Regions from separate parts of the Homo sapiens genome. Here all the other regions are linked to region 1. Evidence: promoter capture Hi-C in 16 types of primary human blood cells and fetal thymus (Javierre and others, 2016). All regions are on one chromosome and are shown on one strand. Each heading gives the region's core, a stretch centred on a gene start or on the middle of the fragment in contact. The rest is flanking DNA. Distances are from core to core; before and after follow the strand shown. Region 1 holds the start of ZFX-AS1 (ZFX antisense RNA 1). Region 2 has its middle 11 kb from the start of PRDX4. Region 3 overlaps PRDX4 (peroxiredoxin 4). Region 4 overlaps ACOT9 (acyl-CoA thioesterase 9). Region 5 overlaps ACOT9 (acyl-CoA thioesterase 9). Region 6 overlaps PDK3 (pyruvate dehydrogenase kinase 3). Region 7 overlaps PDK3 (pyruvate dehydrogenase kinase 3).

The links. The method cuts DNA at HindIII sites, captures the fragments that hold promoters and counts their contacts. A CHiCAGO score of 5 or more calls a contact.
Region 2: a fragment that was not itself captured here is called in contact with the fragment with the promoter of ZFX-AS1 in region 1 in 2 of 17 cell types (total B cells and non-activated CD4 T cells); the score reaches 6.1 in total B cells.
Region 3: a contact is called between a fragment that was not itself captured here and the fragment with the promoter of ZFX-AS1 in region 1, in 10 of 17 cell types (naive CD4 T cells, naive B cells, non-activated CD4 T cells and 7 more). The highest score is 10.6, in naive CD4 T cells.
Region 4: a fragment that was not itself captured here is called in contact with the fragment with the promoter of ZFX-AS1 in region 1 in 9 of 17 cell types (naive B cells, total B cells, total CD8 T cells and 6 more); the score reaches 8.8 in naive B cells.
Region 5: a fragment that was not itself captured here is called in contact with the fragment with the promoter of ZFX-AS1 in region 1 in 5 of 17 cell types (total B cells, total CD8 T cells, naive CD8 T cells and 2 more); the score reaches 7.8 in total B cells.
Region 6: a contact is called between a fragment that was not itself captured here and the fragment with the promoter of ZFX-AS1 in region 1, in 1 of 17 cell types (total CD4 T cells). The highest score is 5.0, in total CD4 T cells.
Region 7: a contact is called between a fragment that was not itself captured here and the fragment with the promoter of ZFX-AS1 in region 1, in 9 of 17 cell types (fetal thymus, total CD4 T cells, activated CD4 T cells and 6 more). The highest score is 9.9, in fetal thymus.

What each region holds. Positions count from the first base shown.
Region 1 is chrX:24,147,742-24,151,171 of GRCh38, reverse strand. ZFX-AS1 (ZFX antisense RNA 1) reads left to right here and starts at 1,518. Exons shown (of 3, transcript NR_046657.1): 1 at 1,518-1,617; 2 at 2,330-2,419. ZFX (zinc finger protein X-linked) reads right to left here and starts at 1,443. Exons shown (of 10, transcript NM_003410.4): 1 at 1,378-1,443. RefSeq lists silencers at 437-946, 997-1,046, 1,067-1,476, 1,537-1,896 and enhancers at 987-1,800, 2,007-2,106. The HindIII fragment of the contact is 5,789 bases long and covers 1-3,430 here.
Region 2 is chrX:23,654,787-23,658,216 of GRCh38, reverse strand. No RefSeq gene overlaps it. Among named protein-coding and RNA genes, the nearest start is that of PRDX4, 11 kb to the left of the region's middle. The HindIII fragment of the contact is 6,235 bases long and covers 1-3,430 here.
Region 3 is chrX:23,675,354-23,678,783 of GRCh38, reverse strand. The region is part of intron 3 of PRDX4 (peroxiredoxin 4); the gene reads right to left. Among named protein-coding and RNA genes, the nearest start is that of PRDX4, 9.6 kb to the right of the region's middle. The HindIII fragment of the contact is 745 bases long and covers 1,808-2,552 here.
Region 4 is chrX:23,699,035-23,702,464 of GRCh38, reverse strand. ACOT9 (acyl-CoA thioesterase 9) reads left to right here. Exons shown (of 16, transcript NM_001037171.2): 16 at 1-1,410. Among named protein-coding and RNA genes, the nearest start is that of PRDX4, 33 kb to the right of the region's middle. The HindIII fragment of the contact is 1,062 bases long and covers 1,346-2,407 here.
Region 5 is chrX:23,722,924-23,726,353 of GRCh38, reverse strand. All of the region lies in intron 6 of ACOT9 (acyl-CoA thioesterase 9), which reads left to right. Among named protein-coding and RNA genes, the nearest start is that of ACOT9, 19 kb to the left of the region's middle. The HindIII fragment of the contact is 5,864 bases long and covers 1-3,430 here.
Region 6 is chrX:24,499,580-24,503,009 of GRCh38, reverse strand. All of the region lies in intron 3 of PDK3 (pyruvate dehydrogenase kinase 3), which reads right to left. Among named protein-coding and RNA genes, the nearest start is that of PDK3, 36 kb to the right of the region's middle. The HindIII fragment of the contact is 1,355 bases long and covers 864-2,218 here.
Region 7 is chrX:24,478,884-24,482,313 of GRCh38, reverse strand. The region is part of intron 1 of PDK3 (pyruvate dehydrogenase kinase 3); the gene reads right to left. Among named protein-coding and RNA genes, the nearest start is that of PDK3, 15 kb to the right of the region's middle. The HindIII fragment of the contact is 3,002 bases long and covers 184-3,185 here.

The DNA of each region.
Region 1 (3,430 bases), core at 269-2,768:
GTAGGCTCCGAGTTTATCAAGAAAGTTGCACAGTGTGCAATCAAAAAAGTACGTTAGGGGATGAAACTCCGCCTTAAAACTTCACAAATGAAAAATCGAAATACCATGACAGGCAAATGCACAATAAATATGCACCACACTAAGTTGTCCTCCAATAAGAAAATAAAAAAGTCTGCCCTTATTCCTCGATTTAAAAAAATACCACCAACAGATCACTACTTAAATCGTTTTTCAAGAAAGTTGTTTCCACATAAATGAGTACGAATGATTCAAAATTTTATTCCTCCGCTCTCGTGTTGTGCAATTTTTTTCCCTATAGGACAAAAGAATGGCAAAAACTTTCCCATCAATCTTTATTTTTCTTCCTTTATTCAGATACTCGGGGCGGCAAAGATTGTTGGAAAAACAACTGCATCGAAAGCACCTTAGCAGCCACATATGATTTGACTTAAGCAAAAATAACATTTCCTGGGGTCCCGTATGCCCTGGTAAGCCCAGGTGTCCGGAATGCCACCTGCCCCGACTGCCCTCGGGTGGCTACAGGCGCGGGGGAAGGCGCAGGGCCAGGGGCGCTGAGGGTGAAACGGTCCCGGCGTCCGGGCGGCGGCGGTGGCCGCCTGCGGCAGCTCAGCTGAAACGCAGCGGAAACTGCAGCCAGTCACGGGGCTGCGGGAGGCAAGGCAGGAAGGTGGCGCTGCCGCCGAGCGCCTGGAGCCCGAGCGCTCATCATGGCGGCAAGGGCAATGGCCGCCACGGGGAGCGAGCACGCCCCTCCGCGCGCACACGCCGCCGCGCCGGGCCTCCGGGGCCCGTCACCGGCGCCGCTGCCGCCGCCGCCCGCTCTCCCACCCCCCCTCACGGGCTGTAGCGGAATTTTCTCTCCAGACACCGCCTCCAAGATGGCGGCTCCCCCTCCCGGCAACCCCCTCTATCGTCCCCTGCAGCAGGCGCCGAGCCGCCGCCATCTTGTCCCCCGTCCCTCCCCCCCCCTCACCGATATTTACATAGCGAAAATCGGCCCGGCCGGCCTGCGGCCTTCACCTCACGCCTGCAGCCTTCGCCTCCTCGCCAGGCCTCACCCCGGCGCGGTGCCCCAGGTCGGCCGCGGAGCCGACCCGGGGCCCCTCGACCGCCTCCGGCACAACCGGGCGACCCTCCCCCAACCCCCGCCCGCTTACGGAGCGCGCCTCCGCCGCCGCTCGGGGCAGCCGGGCTCCTCCCCGGGCCTAACTGCGGCCTCCTCGGGGCCTGCTCGGCGCCGCGCGCCACGCCGCCCGGCCTAGCGCGGGAGGGCGCCTTGCGGGCCGCCGACCAGGCCGAGACCAGGCCGCTGTGCGCGCACTAGGCCCCGCGGCCGCGGCGGCACCCGGGACTCACCGGACGGACGTGCGGGCGGCCGGCGACGGTGGCGGGTGCTGCAGGCCGGCCTTTCTCTGGAGCACTGGGCCGGGCTCCGGCTGGTGGGGCGGGCGGAGGGAGGGAGGAGGGGCCGAGCTCGGAGCTGACAAAAAGCGGCCCAGCTCCCCGGCACGGGCCCGCCGTCAGCACGTCACGTCACCGCCCGGGAGAGAGACCCAGGAAAATGCGGAAGGGTAGACAGGCCCCCTCCTCCGCCCGGTGGGTCCTCCTGGCACCCCGTGTCGGCGCCGCTCCCGCCCCGCGACCGGGGAGCCCAGTGGCCTCGCTGCGGCGGGGTCTCCGGCGGCCGGAGTCTCCGTGACAGCGCCCCCCTTCTTTCCACCTCCTCCGCGCTCCCGCCCGCCGCCGCCACACACGCGCCGCTGCCGCCGCCGCCTCGGCCGTAAAGCCCGCGCGGGGCCGCGGTCGGCCGACCCCGCGGAGAGGCAGGCGGCCCGGCCGCCCCCCACCATGTCCCGTGGGCCGCGGCCGCCCCCCGGGGGCCTCCCTGGAGACCTACCGCCTCTCGCGCCGGTCCTGGCCGAGGCTCCAGCTCGAGTTGTTTGCAGGCCCTCAGACCCCCGCCCGCAGTAAATGTGTTTTCTTCATCCCCGTGGCTGGGGAGGAAGATAAATTTAGCAACCCCCGCCGTCCCCTGCCTTCGCTTAAAAAAAAAAAATCTTTGAAATAAAATGAAAACGGGCTTGCCAGTCTAAATGGGTGTGCGGGAAGGGGGGTGGAGTGGGGGGAGAAGGGTTATCCCTAGAGCACCTACCAGGCCGTCTACTTTTTAAAAATAAGCAGTCAGAGCCAAACTGATTTTATTAGTTTGTACGGGGGAGGGAGATGAGCAAAGTTGCATTTTGAAACGTTTCGCACGTTGCAAAGAACAGGAATTTTCTGTGTATTTTCCTATGTACCCGTGTTTCAGAGCTTGGGAGCCTGTGAAATGTAAGACTGGTGTCATCGTTTCATAAATCATGAATTTTCCACATTCCTTAATAGAGAGGAGCCCAATTGGGTATGGATTTTTTTTTTTTTAAACACACTGCTTAAACAAGCCTTTTGAAGTTTCAAAAGACTTGGGAGAGAAGGGGAAAATGATTAAACAGCACTTACCAACTTCAAAAATGTGTATTTCGCACTTTACTTAGTTTAAATGTTTATGCTATCTTTCCATGCTGAACTTGGAACCCAAACTCTGTTTTAAAGTTACTAGGGAAAAGTTAAATAGTGGAGTCTTTACATTAATCTGGAATCTGGCATGCTATCCTTTAACACAGCACTAAATGTTAAAGGCATTTTTAAACAATAAGAAACACAAAAATTATAAAGCAAATAGTATACTGGTGTGAAATCTCTTTAAATACAGAGGCCACGTATTTTAGTTGCCTGACATAACTCTTTAAAACTCCCAGAATGCAATTTGTCCCTTCCCTCAGACATCTCTCAATCACAAATGCTTTCAAAAAGGAAAAACAAAAGTAGAGTAAGAAGAAATCTCTGAGCATGCACTGGATGATAATTTTCCTCTCGGGGCTTTAGTCTGAATTTTTCCAAGCGATTAAATTTCCTTTCAAAAATAGTAACAGCATGTATTCATTGTTTATAAAAATTACATCAGGCTGTGATAGACTTTCACAGAAAGACATTTCACAGAAAGGTAAATGAAACTAAGCAATGTTGTTTCAATAAAAAAAAATGAGAAATAGCTTGTGTGCCCACATTAATATTTCTTGCACTCCCAGACTGGAGTGCAATGGCGTGATCTTGGCTCACTGAACCTCTGCCTTCGGGGTTCAAGCGATTCTCCTGCCTCAGCCTCCCGAGTAGCTGGGATTACAGGCACTTGCCACCACGCCTGGCTAATTTTTCTATTTTTTTAGTAGAGATGGGGTTTCACCATGTTGGCCAGGCTGGTCTCCAACTCCTGACCTCAGGTAATCCACCCGCCTCGGCCTCCCAAAGTGCTGGGATTACAGGCGTGAGCCACCGTGCCCGGCCGCCCACATTAATATTTCAAAACATTGAT
Region 2 (3,430 bases), core at 392-2,891, 490 kb after region 1:
CCATCCCACAATTGTTAGAGGGAAGGTAGACCCTTTTCTAAACGGTGGACTTTCTTCCAGAACATGTCTTCATCAGCAGTTTGTTGAGAAGCCTTTGATGGTAATAAAGAGATGGTAATAAAGAGGTGGTAATAAAGAGAAGGAAACTGCCTTGGGGATCGGTTTTTCCCATGTCTAGGAGGAAATCTCTGGAAGATCCCATAGACATCTGTTGACTTTTAAATAACCAACCATCCTGTTGTCACTTCTAACCAGTTAGAAGCCCAATGTACTATATCAATCAAAACCCTATGCTCCTAAAGACTGAGGCGTTTCAGCCTACTCTATTTTTATTTATTTATATTTAGTAATTTTTTTATTTTTATTTTTATTTTTTTGTAGAGGCAAGGTGTCACTATGTTGCTCAGGCTGGTCTTGAACTTTTGGCCTCAAGCTATCCTCTCACCTTGGCTTCCCAAAGTGCTGGGATTATAGGAGTGAGCCACTGCACCCAGCCCATTTCCATGAACTCTTAACTGGAGCATTCATGGGTTTTGTCATCCTGTCAGTGATGTGTATATATATGTAACAGGATGGATATAGTAACTCTTTTTTTTTTTTTTTTTTTTTTTTTTTTTGAGATGGAGTCTCACTCTGTCGCCCAGGCTGGAGTGCAGTGGCGCGATCTTGGCTCACTGCAAGCTCCGCCTCCCGGGTTAAAGCCATTCTCCTGCCTCAGCCTCCTGAGTAGCTGGGACTACAGGCGCCCGCCACCACGCCCGGCTTATTTTTGTATTTTTGGTAGAGACGGGGTTTCACCGTAGTCTCGATCTCCTGACCTCGTGATCTGTCTGCCTCGGCCTCCCAAAGTGCTGGGATTACAGGCGTGAGGATATAGTAACTCTTTTTGCCTTTCCTGTCTTCATCTCCTCTCCCCTTGACCACCACTCTTTTTTTTTTTTTTTTTTTGAGACAGGGTCTCGATCTGTCACCCAGACTGGAGTGCAGTGGCACAATCGTTGTTCACTGCAATCTCCACCTCCCAGGCTCAGGTGATCCTCCTGCCTCAGCCTCCCAAGTAGTTGGGACTACAGATGTGTGCCACTACACCTGGCTAGTTTTTGTATTTTTAGTAGAGATGGGGTTTTACCATGTTGTCCAGGCTGGTCTTAAACTCCTGACCTCAAGTGATTCACCCGCCTTGGCCTCCCAAAGTACTGGGATTACAGGCGTGAGCCACTGCAGCCGGCTGTAAAAGTGTGTTTTTAGAGTTTTTAGTGGAATAATAATTTGGGCCTTGTCCTTGGCCTTGCATGTCTCTGTGCATGAGATGACATATCTGGTCTGGAATGTGTGGCTGAAAAAGTTGGCCCTTTTATTAGACAAGACAGCACACTAGTTAGGTTGGTTTCTAAGACACATCTTCTCACCTAAGTGGTAGGCAAGAGGGGCAATAAAGTTCCTCCACTAGGAGATTGTAAATTCCATGTTAGGATGGATAAGGCACCAGGGATCCATGGCACTGGACTTACTGTGGTCAAGCCATTGAATGAGATGAGATTCTTATGACTGTGTAACACAGATAGGGTGGATTAGGAGAGATCAAGGCTCCCTGGAATCCTTGTCTACACGATGGGTGAGTGGGAGTGTAGGGGTCCTCCCACTGTCCAACAGTGGGCCAAGGTAGGGGTAAATGGGCCTGCTGTGTGTGGGCCAAGTTAGGGGGAAGATAAGATAGTTTCTTTGGGGTCCAATAGTGTATGTCACCTGTTGAAAAAGTTTGGAAGGTTAGGCAGCAAGAGGTAAGATTGAAATCATCTGTTTAATTGGTGCCTAATTATTGTTAAAGGTACCTTTTTTGTAACCCCAGAGGATGGCTGAAAGCAAGTACAAACTCGTGCTTACTGGTGCCAGTTGTTCTCGTGGTGTGTCTCGCACCTCTTTATTTTCTGGGCTTCCAGCCAAGGAGAGTAGATGGTCTCCTGGAAGCCGGTATTGTAGTGTCTGTGTAAAAATTATTTATAGTCTTTGTTTCTATAAAAATTGTCTGAATGCAGCTGGTAGAACTTGTAGCGAAAAGATAAAAAAGTTAAAAGTGATCTTATCATTGAGAGGCCTGTGAGCTGATTCATTGTATGCACTGTTTACTAATGTGTAATTAATTTTGAAATGTGTTATATGTTGAATTGTGAATGCTCAAATCTTATCGGTGAAAAATTATTATTATTTATTTTTTTGAGATGGAGTATTGCTCTGTCACCCAGGCTGGAGTGCGGTGACGTGATCTTGGCTCACTGCAACCTCTGCCTCCTGGGTTCAAGCAACTCTCCTGCCTCAGCATCCCGTGTAGCTGGGAATATAGGCATGCACCACCATGCCCAGCTAATTTTTGTATTTTTAGTAGAGACAGGATTTCACCATGTTGGCCAGACTGTTCTCAAACTCTTGACCTTGTGATCCACCCACCTCGTCCTTCCAAAGTGGTGGGATTACAGGCGTGAGCCACCGTGCCCGGCCTGAAAAATTCCTCTTATGCCTAATGCTTTCACTGTGTTATAATCTCTCAACTGGCAAACTGAAGGTGTCAACCCTATGGCCTCGGATGCACACCAGCAAGGGAAACTTAAGATCCCCAACAAAATCCGGGGCTTACCTACCAGTTATGATACTTGAAATAATGTAAGTGGTTTCCCTCACTGAATCCCATTTGTAGTCAAAGAACAACTATTGTCTTTCACCAAATAAAGTATTCTGTGTTCCTGAGAGAACAGTTATTGCTACAAAATGGCTGCAAAAGTTGGCCTGTTTATTTTAAAGTAAAAGAGGGAAAACTACATGGGGCTCTGCCACACCTGGTTTTTCACAGATTGGTTCCATCATATTTTTAATTCCCTTTTCCTGGAGGCTGATAAGGTCATAGTGCCCTTTTGGAAAAAATACAAGTGAGATCCCACAGGTTGATTGGACAAGTATGGAACAGGACTTGAGGAGCAGTAGCAGACCTCATTGATAAAGTGGTGGCAGGGACAGTCTATTATACAGAAATGTACTGAGGTCCGCTCCTACAGTCAGTAGGAAAGAAGTGATATTGAGGATGGGCAAATGCCCAGTGAGGCAATATGTGTTGGGCTCCTTGGTTAGCAGATGAGGGAGTCCTGTCAGTTGTGCTGGAGGACAAGGGGTGAAGATCACCCCATCATCTATGATCCACCCTATGTTCCAAGCCAGTCTGGCCATGACCACATTGCTAATCACAGGAGGACTGAGAGGCTTATCCTCCCTTGCTGAGATATGTACTCTTCAGACTGACATTTATCACATTTAGTACATTTTATACCACCTTTCTACCTAGATCTTTCTCCTGTTTTTTTTTTTTTTTGAGACAGAGTTTTGCTCTTGTTGCCCAGGATGGAGTGCAATGGCCCGATCTCGGCTCACTGCACCCTCCACC
Region 3 (3,430 bases), core at 931-3,430, 470 kb after region 1:
AAACACTTTTTTGTAGAGATGGGGTGTGGCTTTGTTACCCAGGCTGGTCTCGAACTCCTGGCTTCAAGCAATCCTCCTGCTTCACCCTCCCAAAGTGCTGGGATTATAGCCGTGAGCCATTGTGCTCAGCCTACAACACATTTTTGTTTTTTCTGAGACGGAGTCTTGCTCTGTCGCCCAGGCTGGAGTGCAGCAGCGTGATCTCGGTTCACTGCAACCTCTGCCTCCCAGGTTCAAGCGATTCTCCTGCCTCAGCTTCCCAAGTAGCTGGGATTACAGGCATGTGCCACCACACCTGGCTGATTTTTGCATTTTTAGTAGAGTCAGGGATTTACCATGTTGGCCAGGCTGGTCTCGAACTCCTGACCTCAGGTGATCCACCCGGCTTGGCCTCCCAAAGTACTGGGATTACAGGCGTGAGCCACCGCGCCTGGCCTATAACACATTTTTAATGTATGGATACACAGATACTCCTTGACTTAAGATGGGGTTGTTTCTTTCTTTCTTTTTTTTTTTTGAGATGGAGTCTTGCTCTGTCACCCAGGCTGGAGTGCAATGGCACGATCTTGGCTTACTGCAACCTCTGCCTCCCAGGTTCAAGTGATTCTGCTGCCTCAACCTTGTAAGTAGCTGGGATTACAGGCACCCGCCACCACGCCCAGCTATTTTTCGTATTTTTAATAGAGATGGGGTTTCGCCACGTTGGCCAGGCTGGTCTCAAACACTTGACCTCAGGTGATCCGCCCACCTTGGCCTCCCAAAGTGCTGGGATTACAGGCCACTGTGCCCGGCTGGGGCTGTGTCTTGATAAACACATCATAAATTGAAAATATCATTAGCTAAAAATGTATTTACTATCCCATAAACCCACTGTAAAGTTGAAAAATTATACGTCAAACCATCGTAAGTCAGGAACATCTTTACTGTATTTTACTTAATTCCATGATGAAGATTTAAACCATTTACCTTTTTTTTTTGCTTTATAAACACTGCTGAAAACATCCTTGTATTCTTACTTTTATACACTTGTCTAATTGATTTCTGAAAGTGAAACTGATAGATCAAAAGATACGTAGTATCAAAAGCATAACCTTAGTAGTGTGATCATAAGATAAAGCCTTGAACAGACAGGCAGGATACAAATGGATGACATTTTAATATTCTGAGAGACAAATGCAAAGTCCACTTGAAGCAGTGAAGGAAGTGAGTTATAATATCAGATGCCTCAGTCTTCACTACAGGTTGAGTATCCCTTATCGGAAGTGCTTGGGACCAGAAGTGTTTTGGATTTAGGATTTTTTCCGATTTTGGTATATCTGCATACTTACTGGTTGAACATCCCTAATCTGAACTCTGAAATGCTTCACTAAGCATTTCCTTTGAGCATCATGTCAGCACTCAAATTTTGAATTTTGGAACACTGTGGATTTCAGGTTAGGGACGCTCAATCTGTATTCTGTAACTTGAAACCAGGAGACATGGGCTGATGCTCTAACAGGAGGGTACTGACACAGCAGATAGAAAACAAAACGACATTGCTCTAGATATCTGGAGCCCCAGTTCTGACACCCAAGTAGAAATTTCTGGTTGATGTGAACCCTATCAGGCTGAGAATGTATCCCCAAATTTCCTTGGGAAAGCAATCCCAAATTATTTGGGATGCCATAACTTTTTCCTTAGTGGATATGCATTTTAATCCTCGGAAGATTTATAATTACTACAGAAGTGATGAAGCACAGCCCGGGCAACATGGCAAGACTCCATCTCTACAAAAATAAAAATTAAAATAGGTATGGTGGTGCAAGCTTGCAGTCCCAACTATTTGGGGAGGTAGAAGGATTGTTGGAGCCCAGGAGTTCAAGGCTGCAGGGAGCTATGATTGATTGTGCCACTGCACTCCAGCCTGGGCAACATAGTAAGACCCTGTCTTTCTTTTTTTAAAGGAAATGATGAAGCAAATTAAGCCTATATTTTAATTTTTTTTTTTTTTTTGAGACAGGATCTCACTCTATTGCCCAGGCTGAAGTGCAGTGGTATGATCTTGGCTCACTACAGCCTCGACCACCTAGGCTCAGGTCATCCTTCCATCTCAGGCTCCCGAGTAGCTGGGACCACAGGCATGCACCACCAGACCTGGCTAATTTTTTTTATTTTTTGTATAGATGGGGTCTCACTATGTTGCCCAGGCTGGTCTTGAACTCCTGGGTTGAAATGATTCTCCTGCTTTGACCTCCCAAAGTGCTGGGATTATAGGCGTGAGCCACCATGCCAGGCTATTTTAATATTTTTACATTAAGAAATAATCAGTACATATTTATATGTTAAGTTATTTATAATGTTTAAGAGAATTTGGCATATTAGAACTACTTAAGTATTTGGGAAGGTTTGTCTGAAAATTGAGATACTTAAGGAATTCAAATATATTAAATATATAACTGCATTTAAAAATACTTATGGGAATTAATTTCTTAGGGAAATGTAATTAATTAAATTGTAGCTCACCAAGCAATGAAAATTTGTTATACACACACAGATTATAAATGAGAAAAGCTTGTGTTTCAAATTTGTAACTTTAATAAATTGAATATTATGTTTTAAAACCAATAGTTCTGAATCTTTTTTTTTTTTTTTTTTTTTTTTTTTTTTTGAGATGGAGTTTCACTCTCATTGCCCAGTTGCCCAGGCTGGAGTGCAATGGCGTGACCTCGGCTCACTGCAACCTCCACCTCCTGGGTTCAAGTGATTCTCCTGCCTCAGCCTCCTGAGTTGCTGGGATTACAGGCACCTGCTACCACGCCTGGCTAATTTTGTATTTTTAGTAGAGACGGGGTTTCTCCATGTTGGTCAGGCTGGTCTCGAACTCCCGACCTCAGGTGATCTGCCTGCCTCGGCCTCCCAAAGTGCTGGGATTAGAGGCATGAGCCACTGTGCCCAGCCCAATTCTGAATGGTCTTTATTGTGCACAAAGTTTTCTGCACAAGACTGTGGACACTATAAAAACTCATATTAACATGTAAATTTCCAATTTTGAGACATGTTGCCCAACTGCTCTCCAGAAATGCTAAACAGCTGTGTGTGAGTGCCGTTTCTTCAATTTTTGTCCACAGTGGATACATTTTTTCAATCTTTTAAATCTTGGCCAACCAGACAGGGAAAATTGGCATCTCGTCATTTTAATTTGCAATTCTTTATAACGAATTTAGGTAAAACATCTTTTTATGATTAATGAATTTTTAAACATTTTTTAAAATTCATTTTTAAAAAGTATTGTTTCTTCAAAATTGTAAAAGCTGAGTTTGACTATATAACTGTGTAACAGAGAAATGGCATATTTTAAAGATTTTTTTCCTCCAGATTATGGTAACCCAATTTATCATAAGCATATAATTCAGTGGTTTTCGCTATAGAAATCACATCTATTGCATTTAAC
Region 4 (3,430 bases), core at 627-3,126, 450 kb after region 1:
CCTGGCCGAGATGGTGAAACCCCGTTTCTACTAAAAATACAAAAATTAGCCGGGCGTGGTGGCGGACGCCTGTAATCCCAGCTACTCGGGAGGCTGAGGCAGAGAACTGCTTGAACCTGGGAGGCAGAGGTTGCAGTGAGCTGTGATCATGCCACTGCACTCCAGCCTGGGTGACAGAACGAGACTCCATCTCAAAAAAAAAAAAAAAAAAAAATCTGTAGCCAAGACCGTTCCTTTTTTGACAGGAAGGTAACTTAGAAGAAAAAATAATCTCTGAAAAAAGTCCTCCCAAGAAGGAAGCAATATTTATTGTGGGTTCTACATTAGTGTTCACAAACTTGGCTCTGCCTCAGAATTAGGTGGAAAGTATTTTTGTGTGTGTGTGTGTGTGTGAGACAGAGTTTCACTCTGTCGCTCCAGCTGGAGTGCAGTGGCATGATCTTGGCTCACTGCAACCTCTACCTCCCGGGTTCAAGCGATTCTCCTGCCTCAGCCTCCTGAGTAGCTAGGATTACAGGTGTCAGCCCCCATGCCTGGCTAGTTTTTGTATTTTTAGTAGAAAGGCGGTTTCACCATGTTGGCCAGCTGGTCTCAAATTCCTGACCTCAGGTGATCCACCTACCTTGGCCTCCCAAAGTGCTGGGATTATAGGCATGAGCCACTGCACCCGGCCGGTGGAAAGCATTTTTAACAAAAAATTTTTAGGCCAGGCACAGTGGTGGCTCATGCCTGTAATCCCAGCACTTTGGGAGACTGAGATGGGAGGATCGCTTGAGACCAGCCTGGGAAACATAGTGAGACCCTTTCTCTACAAAAAGTTAAAAAATTATCTGAGCATGGTGGTGTGCACCTGTAGTCCCAGTTAGGAGGCTGAGGTGAGTGGATTGCTTGAGTCCAGGAGTTTGAGTCTGCAGTGAGCTATGATCATGCCACTGCACTCCAGTCTGGGTGACAGCAAGACCCTGTCTCAAGCAATTTTTTTATATTAGTTTATGTAATGTTTATTGAAATCACAGTGTCAACAAGCACCTCTGGCATGAAATAGTCACAGGAGCGAACACAACTATCTCTTGGAAGCATGCAGTTTGACTCATGGAATCAAGCATGTGCTGTACTATAATAACTTGTCTCTCCATGCCGTAATGCCATCCTGACTGAGATTTACCTGGCCCTTCAATATAGCATTTTGCATATCTACCTATGACATGATGGGAGGTGGCTAATGGGGAGGGATGCGCCCTGGGGAGTTTTGTGAATGTGTTAAGTGGAGTTAAGAGACCTACTGCATGCTATTGTATAGATTATACATTATATATTTAACCATTTGTTGCTGTACAGTGAAGCTTTTTCTAGTATTTCTTTTTTGCTATTATAAACAATGTTGCAGTAAATATCCTAAATACTCTAAAACATTTGACCCTTAAATTATTTTCTTTGGAAAAATATTAAATGAGATATTTAGGTCAAATAGTAGGCACACGTTGAAGGCTTTGAATATGTATTTCATGTAACCCTTCAGAACAGTTTCACACAATCACTTACACATCAGCAATTTCCCTGAACTTTGCCAATTTTTATCTTTTCTTTTTAAAATATCTTTGCCATTTTGATAGGTGAAGAATGACCTTCTGCTGGATGTGGTGGCTCACACCTGTAATCCCAGCACTTTGGGAGGCCAAGGCAGATTGCTTGAGGTCAGGAGTTCAAGACCAGCCTGGGCAACACGGTGAAAACCTGTTTCTACAAAAATACAAAAATTAGCAAGGTGTTGTAGTCTCACCAGTGCGCCAAAATGTAGCAGTCTTTGGTTGTCTGAGATAGTATCCGGAGTTCTTTGTGTCACAGAGCACGAACACAAGGGTGAGGTTGGAGCAAAAGTTTAGTAAGCAAAACAAGAAAGCTCTCGGCTGGATTCGGTGGCTCACACCTGTAATCCCAGCACTTTGGGAGGCCGAGGTCCGGAGTTCAAGACCAGCCTGACCAACATGGAGAAACCCTGTCTTTACTAAAAATACAAAATTAACTGGGCGTGGTGGCACACGCCTGTAGTCCCAGCTACTTGGGAGGCTGAGGCAGGAGAATCGCTTGAAGCCGGGAGGCAGACGTTGCGGTGAGTTGAGGATCGCGCCGTTGCACTTCAGCCTGGGCAACAAGAGCAAAATTCCGTCTCAAAAAAAAAAAAAAAAGCTCTCCGCAGCGGAGAGTGGGGGCCTGAACGGGTTGCCCACTATGAGGTTGGGGTCGGGGGTTTTTGCGGACTGGGAAGGGGAAGGAATTTGCTTAGTCTGTGAGCTGTCTTGGAGAAAGCTAGATTCAGCTTGGCCCGGGACCAATCAGGAGCTGAATTGATGATTCATTGAGACCACTCAGCTTGGCCCGGGACCTATCAGGAGCTGAAGTGAAAGCTTGGCCCGGGGACCAATCGTGCTGAAGTAATTCTTAGAGGCCGGGCTCACAGTCGAAAGAGGAAAGGAAAGTGCCCATCGGAGTCGTCGGAGCCCACAGTATTAATGCCCACGAAAGGAGAAGAAACTTTTTCCCGGGAACCTGCTGATTATACAAAAGACAAAGACATTTCTATGTCAGGTCTTGTTCCCTTATCTGAGTGAGCTGGAGGTTTGTGCAAGTTTTTATCTAAGTGGGCTGGAGGTTCTCGGATCTGTGCAGCCGCGGGCTTGTCTCCAGGCACACCACCACCCTGTGCTACTTCCCTTATCGGTGCCTGCAGCTTGATTTTTATCCCCAGGCTGCTTTCTCTGTTCTGTGGGGATGAGGCACTGACCCGTGGGTTGGGGGCTCTTTGGGGACCCTTCCCTTGCTGTCTACCTAAGGAAAGCTAGCTAACTCCTCTCAGAGTGATGGTGCACACCTGTAGTCCCAGCTACCCAGGAGGCTGAACTGGGAGCATTGCTTGAGTCCAGGAGTTTGAGGCTGTAGTAAGCCAAGATCACGCCACTGCACTCCAGCCTGGGCAACAAGTGAAACCCTGTCCCCCCCCACCCCCCCAAAAAAAGAAAACTGACATTTGTTAATTGCCTTTCTCTGAATTCTACTGAGATTGAAATTAAATTGCTTATTGTTTTTGTTGTCTTTTTGTTAAATTGCTCACGTAATTTTGGATACCAGAATCTTCACCCCAAATCTGTCCTCTACCAATACAGATATAAAAGCTAGAGGTTTTGGTTTTTAATACAGGACTTTTAAGAAGATGAGGTGAAGCAAACTAACGGATATACACTAGGTTCTGGATTATTAGTGTTATGTCCCTCTCAAAGAATAAAGGAGAATTTTTGACCGGGAGCGGTGGCTTACGCCTGTAATCCCAGCACTTTGGGAGGCCGAGGCGGACGGATCACCTGAGGTCAGGAGTTCAAGACCAGCCTGGCCAACATGGTGAAACCCCGTCTCTACTAAAAATACAAAAATTAGC
Region 5 (3,430 bases), core at 359-2,858, 420 kb after region 1:
CTCTGGCTGCTCTTTTGTAGTCCCCTTTGTAGGTTCCTCTTTTTCTGTTGATCCCTTAAATGTAGGTTATCCCCAGGGTTTTGTCTTCTGCCCTTTCAAAAACTGATTATTTTTTGAATTTATTTTATTTTATTTTGTTTATTTATTTTTTTTGAGCTGTAGTTTCGCTCTTGTTGCCCAGGCTGGAGTGCAATGGCGCTATCTCAGCTCACTGCATCCTCCATCTCCCGGGTTCAAGGGATTCTCCTGCCTCAGCCTCCCATGTAGCTGGGATAACAGGCACACACCACCACGCCCGGCTAATTTTTTGTATCTTTAGTAGAGACGGGGTTTCACCATGTTGGCCGGGCTGGTCTCGAACTTCTGACCTCAGGTGATCCACTCGCCTCGGCCTCCCAAAGTGCTGGGATTACAGACGTGAGCCACTGCGCCCGGCCTTTTGAATTTTATAATTTGTTCATATTAATTAAATTTTAAGGCATTTTAAAATTTAACAATAAAATTGTTAAATCTTTTAAAATTATTTATTTAGTTTTTGAGACAGGGTCTCACTCTGTCACCCAGGCTGGAGTGCAGTGGCGTGATCACAGCTCACTGTAGCCTTGACCTCCTGGCTCAAGCAGTCCTCCTGCCTTAGCCTCCTGAGTAGCTGGGACTACGGGTGCACACCACCATGCCCAGCTAATTTTTTTGATTTTTAGTAGAGACAAGGTCTGCCATGTTGCCCAGGCTGGTCCCAAACTGCTGGACTCAAGGGATCCCCCCACCTCGGCCTCCCAAAGTGTTGGGATTACAGGTGTGAGCCACTGCGCCCAGCCCTATTTTTTCAGTTGAGGTTAAAATATAAAATTTACCATCTTTATCTTTTTTTTTTTTTTTTTTTGAGACAGAGTCTCACTCTGTCACCTAGACTGGAGTGCAGTGGCACCATCTCGGCTCACTGTAACCTCTGCCTCTCGAGTTCGAGCAGTTCTCCTGCCTCAGCTTTCGACGTAGCTGGGATTACAGGCATCTACCACAACGCCCAGCTAATTTTTGTATCTTTAGTAGAGATGGGGTTTTGCCATGTTGGTCAGGCTGGTCTCAAACTCGTGACTTCAGGTGATCCCCCCACCTCGGCCTCCCAAAGTGCTGGGATTACAGGTGTGAGCCACCGCGCCTGGCTCATCTTTATCATTTTTAAGTGTACTGATCAGTGGTAAAAACTACATTTATATTACATTTTCCTCCGTCTCTTCTCTACCCTTCCCTTCTGCCCTTTTTTGGGTTGACGTTGCAGATTCTCTATAAACTCATCTACTCCCAGTGTTTCAGTTGCTATCAGTATGCTGAATACTTACAAAGCTACATTTTCTGGCCTGCTTTTCTGAGTTTCAATCAATTTTTCCTCTTAGCTACTAGATTTATTTTTCTTTTTTAGAGACAGTCTCACTCTGTTGCCCGGGCTGTAGTGCAGTGGTAAAATCATAGCCTACTGCAACCTTAAACTTGCGGGCTCAAGTGTTCCTTCTGCCTCAGCCTCCTGAGTAGCTGGGACTATAGGCACACTGCACCATGCCTGGCTAATTTGTTTTGTTTTTTTGGAATAGGGTCTTGCTCTGTCACCCAGGGTGGAGTCCAGTGGTGCGATCACCACTCACTGTATCCTCGACATCTCGGGCTCAAGCATCCTCCCATCTTAGCCTCTCAAGTAGCTGGGACCACAGGCACACGCCACCATGCCTGGCTAATTTTTGTATTTTACTGTAGAGACGGGATCTCACCATGTTGCCTGGGCTGGTCTGGAACTCCTGGGCTCAAGTGATCCATCTGCCTCTGTCTTCCAAAGTGCTGGGATTACAGGCTTGATCCACCATGCCTGGCCTAATTTTTAAAGTTTTTTGTAGAGACAGGGGTCTCACTCTGTTGCCCAGGCTAGTCTCAAGCTCTGGGCTCACGTGATCCTCCTGCTATGGCCTTGCAAAGCCCTAGGATTACAGGTGTGAACAACTGTGCCCTCCCCAATACCTTCATTTGGATGTGCCATAGGCTCTTCAAATTCAACGCATTGAAAATGGCCCATTCTTTTCTTCCTATATTCTCTTTTTATTTTGAGACAGAGTCTTACTCTGTTGTTCAGGCTGGAGTGTAGCGGCATGATCATGGCTAACTACAGTCTTGACCTCCTGGGTTCAAGCAATCCTCCTACCTATCTCCCGAGTAGCTGGGACTACAGGCATGTGCCACCACACCTGGCTAACTTTTGTGTTTTTGGTAGAGATGGAGTCTCTGCTGTGTTGCCTGGGCTGGTCTTGAACTCCTAGGCTCAAGTGATCTTCCTGCCTTCGCCTCTAAAAGTGTTGGGATTACAGGCATGAGCCACTGTGCCCAGTCTCTCTTCTCTTTTTCAGTGACTAGTACACCACGCTTACCTATGCAAGCTAGAAAACTGAATTTATTCAAGTCTTCTCAGGTTTACCTTCTTCTTAACTCATAGTCTTTTCATTTCTACTCCTGTTGCCATAGGTTGGAGCCATCTGATTTCTTTGCTGGACAAAGACTTTTAAATGGAGTTTATTGCCTTTAGCCTATCATTCCCCCAGTGTGTCCTTTAGCAGGTGCATAGATGGAAGGATTTACACTTACTCAACAAGTATTTATTGAGCCACATATCTTGTCTGAGAGTTTGTGATACAAATTTGAATGGATCATGGGGGAAGCAGGGAGCCAATCAACATATAATCATACAACTTTTTTTTTTTTTTTTTTTTTTTTGAGACAGTCTTGCTCTGTTGCCAGGCTGGAGTGCAGTGGTACGATCTCGGCTCACTGCAACCTCTGCCTCCTGGGTTCAATTGATTCTCCTGCCTCAGCCTCCTGAGTAACTGGGACGCCACCACGCCCGGCTAATTTTTGTATTTTTAGTAGACATGGGGTTTCACCATGTCAGCCAGGATGGTCTCGATCTCTCGACCTCGTGATCCGCCTGCCTTGGCCTCCCAAAGTGCTGGGATTACAGGCTGAGCCGCCGCGCCCGGCCCAACGTATAATTATACGACTTTAAATGAGTTGATATCTGTAAGGTGCATGAACCATGCATGGCACATATAAATGCTTGTTAAAATATGGAAAGTATACAGATAACCACAGGGTGGTATAGGAGTCAAGGGTGTTATGGGGAAGGAGGGATAACTGAGTGAAATAATTGTTTCATGATTAATTAGGACAAAGCCAGGAGGAAAACAGGTAGCCAAGTCCTTGTGCTTTGTTTCTCTTTCCTGAAGATGTTTGATACTGTCAGACTCATGTGCTGAGTTCTTACTCTGATTTGGGCACTGAGTCTCTGTGGAGTGGTAACAAGCTGTCTGGTGGGTCTGGGCTTGCTTCGGGCTTTGATTTCTTCACCAAATCTTAAAATTGAGGGGGCAGTCAGATTGGAGGATCTCCCAAA
Region 6 (3,430 bases), core at 292-2,791, 350 kb before region 1:
TAAAAGTTGAATAAAGAATTGCAGAACATATCAGTACTTCTTCTGAGAACATGAGGACAATCCCCACAAAATCTCCAAGGACTGATTAAAGCAATCTCAAAGCAATAGCTTCCATGAATAAAGAAATAATGTCACACTGTTTTTTGGGTTTTGTTTGTTTGTTCTTTTGACGGAGTCTCACTCTGTCACCCAGGCTGGAGTGCAGTGGTGTGATCTCGGCTCACTGCAACCTCCACCTCGCGGGTTCAAGCAATTCTTCTGCCTCAGCCTCCCGAGTAGCTGAGACTACAGGTGTACGCCACCACGCCTGGCTAATTTTTGTATTTTTAGTAGAGACAGGATTTCACCATATTGGCCAGGCTGGTCTTGAACTCCTGACCTCGTGATCCGCCCACCTCAGCCTCCTAAAGTGTCTCATACAGTTTAAGAGTAAAATTTGGAAATAAATATCTCGCAGCAGTAAAATACAGTGATGAAATGCAGACAGAACACAGGAAATTAAACTATTCAAGTATCTGGCATCTTATTGTAAATATGCATATGGGAAAATACATTAAGAATGGTATAAGACAAGTCAGTCAATGGAACTAAATAAAAAGTTTAGGACCAGGCCCATGAGTGAGTATGTATATATAAAAATCGAGCATATTGAGAAAGTGACATTGCAAATCAGTAGGTAAACAATCAAACTAATAATCAAGTTAACTGGAACAGCGGGCTAACAATTTCAGTCACATCCTAATTTCAAGACTTAAAACCAAATACTGGATTAAAAATGTAAAAGGGTGAAATCACAGAAATGATAACAGAAAAATCAGGTGAATAAGTACATAATCTTGGGATAAGGAGGGCTGTTCTAAGCTTAATATCAAAGGTAGAAACAAATAATGTGAAGAAACAAATGATATGACTATGTAGAATTTTAGCAATCCTATAGGGACACACATTAATAAATGAAGTAGAAAAAAAACAAAAAACTTAAAAAAAGGAAAAAACTAGCACCCCATCAGAAAACTAGGCAAAGGATCTGCTATCAATGCAAAATTTACCAAAGAAGAAGCACAAATGCCAATAACGTCACCCTTACAAATAAGAAAAGCAAATCAAAACAATGTGATACTTATTATTCTCCACGTATCAGCATCAGCTAGAGTTTGGGGCTTAACTGAGGCACTTCTCAGGACAATCAGCAACATACAGCAAAAGCCCAAAGAAAATAATTCCACTTGGAGGAATTGATCCTAGGAAAATAACTGGAAAAGGTGAACAGCTGTTTGTTTGTTTGTTTATTTATTTATGAGACAGAGTCTTGCTCTGTTGCCCAGGCTAGAGTGCAGTGGCACAATCTTGACTCACTGCAACCTCTGCCTCCCGCGTTTAGGCAATTCTCCTGCAGCCTCCCAAAGTACCTGGGATTACAGGTGCCCACCACCACGCCTGGCTAATTTTCATATTTTTAGTAGAGACAGGGTTTCACCATGTTGCCCAGGCTGGTCTCGAACTCCTGGCCTCAGGTGATCCGCCCGCCTTGGCCTCCCAAAGTGCTGGGATTACAGGCGTCGGCCACCATGCCCGGCCAACAGATGTATTTAAAAGCTGTTCTTTAAAGCATTGTTTATAGTAGCATGAAAACTACAAACCAGTCTAAAATCCAGTGATAGAAGATCAAATTGCATGAACTATCTGAAGATGGACTATTAACATGAATATTATGAAACTATTAATAATGGTGTAGATCTATAATGTTGACACTTGTTATGTTTGTAAAAATATTTTACGCATATAAATATATGCATGCCTAGGGAAAAGCACGGAAGAAAGGAAAATAGTAATAGTGGTTGTCCCCTGGTAGTAGAAATTTGGGGTGACTTTCTTTTTACTTATCTCAATAGTCTTATTTTTCTGAAATATTTGATGAAATATTTGACGAAATATTTCTGTAACAAATACATACGTACAATGACAATAAAGATGTAAAACTCTGAAATTAGGCCATCGTCATTCACAAAAAATTTTATAATAGACAATTTGTCCTTTATGTAATACTCGTTGCAATGTATTTGTAAGTTAAATATTACTAAAGTGAAACGATTCATTATAGTAGAGAAGTGCCTCAACTTATCTGAAGTGGGGAGACTTACCTCAATGGCTCAATGCTCAGAATTCTCCTCCAATCTTCCGGGCTCTTCTAAACTCTATCATAAATGATCAACAAGCTTGTCCTCTAAGCTACTTTTGCTTTACTAAAATGATTTCCCTGCTGGTGATCCCATACAACCTCTTGGTAAACAGAAAAGGCTGCTACCATGATACTCGCTCACCTTTCACTCCTTCCTTCACCAAGAACATCAGCCTTCTCAAATGCCAACTATCATAACTAACCACATGAACCTAGGCAAGCTACAAAACTCACGGAGTGAGAGCTCAGCTATTATTGCTATCGTCAAGCACACACTGGATTCAGCACTGACAGTTTGCAAAGCAGGCTCGTGGCCATAAATCACATCGGATAACCTGTTCCAGAAACTGAGACGGGACTCCGGGAAAAACACAGCAGAAATTTAACATCGTGTATAGTCGTCTCTCAGTATCCGCAGGGGACTGGTTCCAGGATCCCCGCAGATACCCAAATCCTCAGATGCTCAAGTCCCTTATCTAAAATAGTGCATACAGCCTACTCACATCCTCTCGGATACTTTAAATCATCTCTAGACTAGTTATAATACCTGATACAATGTAAATGCTATGTAAACAGTTGATAGACTGTATTTTAAAATTTTGTATTATTTCTTATTGTTGCATTGTTATTTTTTATTGCTTTTTTTTTTCCTGAATATCTTTTCAATCTGTGGCTGGTTGAATCCAAGGATGTGGAAACTGCCAGTACAAAGGACCAACTATACTTCTACAAATTTGTTCTAAAATTTGGAGCTACAGTGGTCAGCCCTAGGTTTTAGGATTTCTGCCAAACGGTTACCAGCTAATGACTTTTGAGAAAACAAAGCTCCTGGATTGAATTCATTTAATAATCGCTTAAATGACAGCAGTGGCTTATATCAAGGAAAACGCTACATCTGGGGCTCTAACCCAATGCTTCCCTGCCTTCCACACTTCACAGATCCATCAGACAAACACCCAACAAAGTATAAAATAGGTGAGGGCTTTTGTTTTTCCTTTGAATTTTAGTTTACAACTAGACTAGAACTAGCTACTCATGGCTCAGACGTAAACATAGCTTATAGGTCCAGCTTTGCTATGAACGGTCACAATCTTGGGCAAGTCACTTCACATCTCTGAACTCAGTTTCCTTATCTGTGGATTGAGAGGACTGGGTTAAATACCTCCTAAGGTTGCTTGTATAACATGGTGTTTCCCTAGTTCTTCTTATGGAACATCTATTAAGTCAGGTGTTCAGTCTCATAACTATGTG
Region 7 (3,430 bases), core at 435-2,934, 330 kb before region 1:
TCACTTGAACCTGGAGGTGGAGGTTGCAGTGAGCCAAGATCACACCACGCACTCCAGCCTGGACGACAGAGGAACACTCTGTCTCCAAAAAATAAACAAACAAACAAACCTCACTCTACCTGAATTTTAACCATGGCTTTGCCCCTAACTTTGCTTAGGTAAGAGACTTAAACTATCTAAGCTTTAGACTCTTCATCCAAGAAATGGAAACACTTAATGTGGACGCTGTGAGAATTACAGCTAACCACTATTGTGTTTAGCAGAGAGTGGCACACAAATGTAAGTTCCCTTGGCCTCATAAAAAGAATAATTTCTGGTTCCCTTTGGAAGAGGTGGCCAAGATGTTATACCAAAAACTAGCTGATGACTGGCATAGTCTCTTCCTTACTTGGGGCTTCTACTTTCTCATGTGTAAAATTGGGAAGATTACAGATGATCTCTGTATTAGTTTGTTCTCATGTGGCTAGAAAGAACTACCTGAGACTGAGTAACTTATGAAGGAAAGAGGTTTAATTGACTCACAGTCCACATGGATAGGGAGGCCTCAGGAAACTTACAATCATGGCAGAGGCGAAGGGGAAGCAAGCACATCTTCACATGGTGGCAGGAGAGAGAGAGAGCAAAGGGAGAAGTGCTACACACTTTTAAACAACCAGATCTCATGAGAACTCACTCGCTATCATGAGAACAGCAAGGGGGAAATCTGCCCCCATGATCCAATCACCTCCCACCAGGCCCCACCACCAACACTGAAAATCATAACTCAACATGAGATTTGGGTGGAGACACAGAGCCAAACCACATCAGTCTCTAAGCTCAAGTTCCCACTGAATTAGTCTAAGAGGATAAGATTTTTGTTTGTCTCTCTATACAGTTATTTATCATACACTAACCTTGCCTACTAATATAAATTCTAAGAAAACTCTGGAGAGCAGTGCTAGGAGTAAACAGCCAAGGAAAAAAGGTGGAAGTCAAGAAAAAGGGGCCAGGCGCGGTGGCTCACGCCTGTAATCCCAGCACTTTGGGAGGCCGAGGCGGGCAGATCACGAGGTCAGGAGATCGAGACCACGGTGAAACCCTGTCTCTACTAAAAATACAAAAAATTAGCCGCGTGCAGTGGCGGGCGCCTGCAGTCCCAGCTACTGGGGAGGCTGAGGCAGGAGAATGGCGTGAACCCGGAAGGCGGAGCTTGCAGTGAGCCAAGATCGCGCCACTCCACTCCAGCCTGGGCGACAGAGCAAGACTTTGTCAAAAAAAAAAAAAAGAAAAAGAAAAAGAGTATGCACATTTACATTTTGTTCTTCTCTTTGTGATCTCCATCCAGAAAGCCTCCAACAACATTTTGGATAAAGGACAATTGGGTTAACACCTTACCTGTTCCCAGAAACCACCCTTATTTCAAAAACCTTTAAGGGCGAGGTAGGGACAGCAGCAAAAAGATACCACAAAATTATATGATTCATCCTTCTGACTAGCATACGTAAATTTATGTATTTGTCCCAGCTTCTCATTTATCTATGAGCTCCTCAAAGGCAATGAATATGCCTTGGCAATTTCCCAATGCTTCTTAGTTTCCATTTCATTCCAAATCCAGAACTTTCAACTAATGCTGATGGACTCCAGAATGACTTCGGTGTTAACCTTTGGCATCTCACTCACAGACTCTATCCCCTAAAGTGGTTCATAGCTCTTGGGCAAAAATTTCACCAGCTCTAACACTGTGGTTTTAACTCTGGAAGAATATTATTACACAATCGCCTGGGTAACCCAAAAGCACCAGCACCTAGACTCCTACCCGCAGCAATTGATTTAATTGGTTTATGTAGGGAGCAGGTGTCACTCATTTCAGGCGCTCCCCAGACAATTCTCATGAGCAGCCAGGACTGAGAACCATGGACTAGCATCTAATCATAGAAAATTCAATGAGGGTAAACAAATCAAAGAACTCCTCAAGCCCAGACAATGGCTATTAAGCATCCCCAATTTTTTATTTACCCATGTACTGTTGTCTTTATTTTCACCTTTGAGTTTTATTTCAGCCTCTTGGGAAACTGATCACAAACATCTTTGTACTCTGTAAGAGACTTTTCAGTGTCAGCTCTTTTTTTCCCTTTCACTTTCAGATGATCTTAAATGGGGAAGATAAAAACTAAACAAACTCGAGAAGGAAACGGCTGTGCTTCAGGATGTGGTAATGCTTGGGAGGCGGTGACAATGCACTCGATGGTCCTTTCCTCCAGTTTGTTTTGCTCACACACTGCGCCCAATCCCTCACCTACTTTCTCTGCTATAAAGAGGTGGTAAGACGATCAGGCGGGCAGACATGTGGCTCTACTACCTATTATACGTGTGAGTCATCTTCTTACCCGCTCAGAACTTCAGTTTCCTAATTGGTAAAATGGGCATGGCTGTTGTGAGAATTAGATGATATCCTGTTTTAGTTGGTAAGTACTCAGTAAGTGCTAGTCGAATCTATTGAATCTTTTTCAGGTGCCATATAAAGTCCTTTTTTTTTTGTTTGTTTTTTTTGAGACGGAGTCTCACTCCATCGCCCAAGCTGGAGTGCAGTGGCGCGACCTCGGTTCACTGCAACCTCTGCCTCCCTGGTTCAAGCGATTCTCCTGCCTCAGCCTCCTAAGTTGCTGGGATTACAGGCACGTGCCACCGCCTGGCTAATTTTTTTTTGTATTTTATTAGAGATGGGGTTTCACCATGTTTGCCAGACTGGTCTCAAACTGCTGATCTCAGGTGATCTGCCTGCCTCGGCCTCCCAAAGTGTTGGGATTATAGGTGTGAGTCACTGTGCCCAGCCAAGAGTCCATTTTAATTTCCTTCTCCAATAGCTTCACTGAAGTCAAGCTCAGGTCAAAGAAACAGGAATAGGAGTATGTAGGCCAGAGATAACACGGTAGAGAATATGTAAGGAGCTCTAACAAAAGAAGCAGTACCCTGGCCATGAAGGGCAATTTCTAGAGAACAGGAGACTCCCTGAGACAAGCAGCTTCCTCCCAGAAGAGTCTATTACAAATAAAGTGCTCACATGAGCACATCACATGACCAATGCAGGAACAGTAATACAGCAATAACCACTTTGCTTTCTATTTAACAGCAGAATCAGGAGGAGAAATTAACCAAAGTTATACAAAATCCACAGGCTGGTATTAAGAAATATCTGCTAGCAAGCTTAAGGAAACATTATACCCTACTAGGACAGATCCAAGAAAAGGTTCAGATAGAAGCCTGAGTGTTCTCTGGTCTATGAAAATGTAACAATTGTGGGAAAATATATGTAAGTTACAAATTTCAAAAGGCCCTACTGTTTTCTGGCCAGCAACACATGGCAAAATATTTAACTTCATGGTATGGGAAAATGTTAGAGAGATGATAATTTCTTCCCAACAGTGAGACTATTATATACTGACCTCCATGC